2 separate regions of the Homo sapiens genome follow, and region 1 is linked to region 2. The links are contacts of gene promoters, found by promoter capture Hi-C in human tissues and cell types (Jung and others, 2019). All regions are on one chromosome and are shown on one strand. Each heading gives the region's core, a stretch centred on a gene start or on the middle of the fragment in contact. The rest is flanking DNA. Distances are from core to core; before and after follow the strand shown. Region 1 has its middle 460 kb from the start of GABRG2. Region 2 holds the start of GABRG2 (gamma-aminobutyric acid type A receptor subunit gamma2).

Evidence for each region. The method cuts DNA at HindIII sites, captures the fragments that hold promoters and counts their contacts. A contact is called where the count stands out against the background at its distance.
Region 1: a fragment that was not itself captured here is called in contact with the fragment with the promoter of GABRG2 in region 2 in 1 of the 25 tissues and cell types used here (heart left ventricle).

What each region holds. Positions count from the first base shown.
Region 1 is chr5:162,525,000-162,527,767 of GRCh38, forward strand. No RefSeq gene overlaps it. Among named protein-coding and RNA genes, the nearest start is that of GABRG2, 460 kb to the left of the region's middle. The HindIII fragment of the contact is 5,952 bases long and covers 1-2,768 here.
Region 2 is chr5:162,066,324-162,069,023 of GRCh38, forward strand. It overlaps GABRG2 (gamma-aminobutyric acid type A receptor subunit gamma2), which reads left to right and starts at 1,450. Exons shown (of 10, transcript NM_198904.4): 1 at 1,450-1,783. The coding sequence starts at 1,677. The HindIII fragment of the contact is 5,062 bases long and covers 1-2,700 here.

The sequences.
Region 1 (2,768 bases), core at 69-2,568, 460 kb after region 2:
CCAGTGGTGGCAGCAGCAGGCAGAGCATGCCTGTCCTTGGTCCCTAGGGCTGAATACACTGGCACCAGTTTTAGATGGTTCAGAGGGATGAATTTTTGAGCCTCTAGGCATTGATAGGCTTTGCTGGTGGTGGGTTATCAGGCCTCTAGCAGCCTGCATGTTGTGGACAATGGCAATAGCAGTGGGGTGTCTAACCTTTGGGAACCAAGTGGTATTTGCCAGTGTTAGCAGTGGCTGCAATGAGCAAGGTGGGCCAGTTTCCAGGCCCACAGAAGCATGTGCAGTTTAGTGCCAACTGTGATGGTAGCAACAGGTTGGGTGGGCCTGATCTCAGTCCCTTAAGAGGAACACTCGGGTGTCAACAGTAGTGGACTGGGCAGGGAAGTCCCCAGGCCCTTGAACAGCATAAGAATGTAAAGCAGGGCTTGGTGGGCCCATCCTCCAGCACCCAAGTGGTGTGGATAGGCACTGGCTGTGGTAGGCAGCAGCAGATTGAGCCCAAGGCCCACAGCAGAATGCTCTGGGTGAGGGTGGCAGCAGCAGTGGCTGCACTGTAGACCTACTATTGGGGAGAACAGGTGTGCTTTCAGGGACAACAGTCATAGGCAGACAGCTGAGGAGTATGTGCTTCACTTGTGTTTCAACCCTGGATGTGACAGCTTGTAGTGATGGCTACTGCTAGTTGCAGAGTTTGCCCTCAGAGTGCATGAAAATGTGAAGTGACATCACTCCTGGGGCAACAGGGTATTTGCCAAAAGCTCATACTTCAGCCCTGGATGCAGCATCCAGCCATGGTGGTGGCTGAAGGTGGGGAATCTCTGAAGGCTCTAGAGATGTGGGGATGCAAGCACTGTTGGACCTCCAGGCAGGATGCAGTCTGGTGGAGGCTGGGCTCTAAATATGCTGTCTTTCAGTAGCTGCTTAGCTTAGAATGTATTGGACTCAGTGTGAGCTCCCTGTCTGGAACAATGTTTTCATACTGCCTCCATGCAACTCCTTATGCTAGTCTTAGGGACTGCAAGGGTCTAGGGGCTTTCCCATGCCCAGGATGCAAGAGTCCATAGTGGAAATGTGAAGCTCTATGGGTGACTCACTTATCCTTGACTGCAATGGAGAATCTCTTCAGGCTACCGGATGATCCCAGAGAAGCAGACTGCCATGCTTCCCTCTCCGTGCTTATTTTAGGTGTTTCCTGTAGCTTCTCTGTTGAATTCCAGTGTTCTTTCTTACATTATGTATTTATGTATTTGCATTGCAGTTATCTTCTCACTATTTTGGTTCCCCTTTGTGGAGGATAAGACTACTTGGTGCTTTTAATCCACCTTCTTTTCCTTCTTTTTTTATTTATTATTTTTTAATTATTTTAGTAGAGATGGGGTTTCACCATGCTAGCCAGGATGGTCTCGATCTCCTGACCTCGTGGTCCCTCTGCCTCAGCCTCCCAAAGTGCTGGGATTACAGGCGTGAGCCACCATGCCTGACCCGTTAATCCACCTTCTTGAAGGTGCTTTCTGAGATTTACCTTTATTTATTTTTATTCTGGACTGATTTCCCTTAGACTTTGCACATGTGTATTAATATTTGTTGGCTTACTCTTTTTTTTTTTTTTTGAGATGGAGTCTCACTCTGTCACCCAGGCTGGAGTGAATTGGTGCAATCTCGGCTCACTGCAACCTCTGCCTCCTGGGCTCAAGTGATTCTCGTGCCTTAGCTTCCCGAGTAGCTGGGACTACAGGTGCACACCACCACACCCAGAAAATTTTTTCTTTTTTTTGTATTTCTAGTAGAGACAGGGTTTCACCATGTTGCCCAGGGTGGTCTTGAACTCCTGAGTTCAGGCAATCTACTAGCCTCAGCTTCCCAAAGTGCTAGGATTACAGGTGTGAGCCAACACGACCGGCCAGTTAGTTTACTCTTAAAATTCCTAAATAATTCCAAATCTCTCTTGGGATTATTTTTCCCATACTTCTGGTAATCTCTTGCCTACATTAAACTTAAATTCCTTTTATCATAAGTTTACAATAAAAAAAAAATCTAACCTCTGTAAATAGAATCATCCTCCATCCGTAGAACTATGTTCTCCTTTTTTCTCAAGCCAGAGCTCAAAGAAACCAATGACAATGACCTTGTAAGATTTGAAAGTGAGAAATATGAGATTGCAAATTGCACTGCCATTCCCTATCCTATGCTGTCAGAAACATCACCAATCCATCAGAATTCTTTCCTGTGCTGAGCTCAAGAGTTATTTATAAATGCATCTCAATTAATGGCTTATTATTTTTTCCTTAATCATTTTACTTAATTCCTACAACAAACCAAGGAGCTAGGTGTTACTAATCCCATTTTACAAATGAGGACACTAAAATCTAGATAGGATTGTAACTCATCCAAGGTTATGCTGTTAGCAGTAGGTGATTACAAGATTCCAGTCTAGGTTTGTCTGGTTCCAAGGCCCATGCTGTTAAAACTGTGTTGCCTGTGGTGGTATGGCCTGATTGGTTGGCCTGATTTGTTGGCCATGGGAATGACAGGAAGCCACATATTAAAGGACTCTCCCTTGAGGTGTCTTAGGAAGAGCCCCAATGATCAGGTGAAGTCCTTGGCTCTTTCTGAAGCAGCCAAATGTGTATAAAACGGTGCTATGTAAGTTCGATGAAGAAGTTCATTTATAGAACATATCCTTGCTCTAGAAATATGTCATTACAGAGCATAGTGATACATTGCCTATGTATTATCCCACACTAAGAAACAAACCATATTTATTCAAA
Region 2 (2,700 bases), core at 200-2,699:
AGAATTATGAAGCCATGCAGGATTCCAGGTGGGTCTGTCAGGACTTTTTTGCTTCATTGTCAGGATGCATCTCCTCAGCCCATGTGATGGGCAGCAGCCACTGGTAATTCTTTCTGCTTTCCTTGGATATACTTTAGTGTTAGTGATGGAGTGTGGACCTGATTTTCTCATGTTCTATTCCTATGTCTCCTAGACTCCTTACCCAAGTTCCATTCCTGGAAGACTTTTTTCTTGCAAAAAAGGCACTTATTTTGAAACAACTCCTTGTCACTTTCCACAAAGAGCTAAGATTGTTCCTCATCACTACTACTGCTTCCTGCATACTTTCAATGTGGTATCTTGACTTTAAAGAACCATGAAACACTCCCCCACTTTATTTTTCATGATTAATGAAAGGGATTTCCTCTGTGGTGGATGAACTGGTTTGGCATAAAGGGGGTATCTTCTACATATTAGTATCTATAGTAACATTCTAGGCAAGAAAGAAGCATACTAATACCACTCATCCAAACTAAAAACTTTCGGGATTATTACCAAGAACAAAAAATCAACCCCCCACATGACAAACAGAAATCCCTTTGCATTGTTAAATGACCTCCTGATTATACCCCTCTGCCCACCCTTCCTTCAAAAAACAGCCCTCCTATTTTGTGATGTGTAATCTTTATTCAAGCAGCTATCCCCACGCAATTACATTTGTCAAACTTCAAGCAGTTTTGTGTCTGTGCATTTTCACTGGGGTTGGAGAACTGACAAGGGAGGAATGAATCTTGAGTAGCATAGAATTTCTCCATGTCCTTTAATTCTATCAATGTTTTCTTCTCTCATTCAAATTGAATTCACCAAATCTGTCTGCCTACAGGATGACTTACTGAGACACTCACACCTCCCCCACTGTCTGCTCCCCCAGCTCTAACAATGCAACCATGATTTCTAAGACTGTACGAGTTTAAAATAAGGATTCTTGGCAGATCTGACGACCACAAACCTTCTGTCATTGATGATGTAGCTTCTGGGCTTGCTAAAGCATCTCTTGTCCCCATGAATGCCAGTCCTTGCATGCTGGTGTGTGCAGTAAAGGGTTAAAAAGCTTTGGAAAGACACCACGCATGTGTTAATTCGTGCTGCAGCAGCGTGCATCACTTCCACTTTGACCTCATAGTTAATCTGCGTGATAGTTAATCACGCAGAGTCTCTAGTGATTTTTTTCCTATTTATTTTAAATACACACACCCACAGGGCTCTGCCCCCTGTAAAAGAAAAAAAATCAAAACAAACAAATAAATAACCCCAAAGAGATGGACCCAGGGGAGAACGCGTAAGTGTGAGGGGCATGAGTATACACGAGTGTGCGTGTCTTTCCCTCTCCCTTATTTGTCTCCGTATGAGTCTCTCCTTGTACCCTCCCCCTGCCTCGATGATATTACTCCCCCAGACTTGGAAGCCGCTGCCAGAGTGACGCTTTGATGGTATCTGCAAGCGTTTTTGCTGATCTTATCTCTGCCCCCTGAATATTAATTCCCTAATCTGGTAGCAATCCATCTCCCCAGTGAAGGACCTACTAGAGGCAGGTGGGGGGAGCCACCATCAGATCATAAGCATAAGAATAATACAAAGGGGAGGGATTCTTCTGCAACCAAGAGGCAAGAGGCGAGAGAAGGAAAAAAAAAAAAGCGATGAGTTCGCCAAATATATGGAGCACAGGAAGCTCAGTCTACTCGACTCCTGTATTTTCACAGAAAATGACGGTGTGGATTCTGCTCCTGCTGTCGCTCTACCCTGGGTAAGATGTGCCCTTTTTGGCGTCGTTTTGTTCTGAAGAGGTGGGGGGAAGGTGTGGGGAGGGGTAACTCGGGAGACCACCCAGATTTAAAACACTCTCCTAGGATGTGCGGCTTTACAATTTAGGAGAGAGCGAATATATGGGGCGGGGACTGGAGGGAGGAAAGTGGAAGGTCACTTTCGTTAATGTATTCATTTATTGGATTTTATTTTATTTTTTGTTTGGTTTTAGAGTGGAAAAGGTAACCTCATAAAGACTAAATATTTAGGGAGTAGCATTTTGACATTATTGCAATCTGATATCGGAGTGGGCTGTGCTGATACACGCCGGCATTTGAGGCCGTGTTGCAAGCATTTTGGGTGGGGGTCTGATGGAGAAATTTACAAATGGGTCCTGGCGCACACCGGAGAGATATGTGTGAGGGAGCTGGGGGGAGGGGCGGCGGGCGGCCCTGTTCCTGTGTACTAAGGCATCGCATGCTTCTGCACCTGGCATTCTTAAGGTCAGTCAGCCAGGTTTTGCATCCAGTCCCATTGACCCAACAGCCAACTACCCGTGTGCAAACATGGTTCAGCACCAGGGACAGCAGTCCTGGTGAGGGCCAAAGGGATAGAGGCTTGTCTAACCTGATAGAACGTCTCTAAATATACTCAGGGCATCCACAGAGTCAGAGAGAAGGCCAATGAAGCCACGGGGCACTAATGAAATATACAGATCCTGATCTGTTTACCTCTACTCCCTCCTTGATATGGGAAGGGGACTATTGGGCATAGGGTGGAGAACGTAGTTAAATGATTGCATAGGGGAATATACGTCTGGAAAAGAGTTGGCCTTGCTGCAGTGTTGGAAAATATGCTGAACCAGGTGAATGTGATGCCATAATCGTGAAGTACACATTAATGTTTTAAAACCTTGCT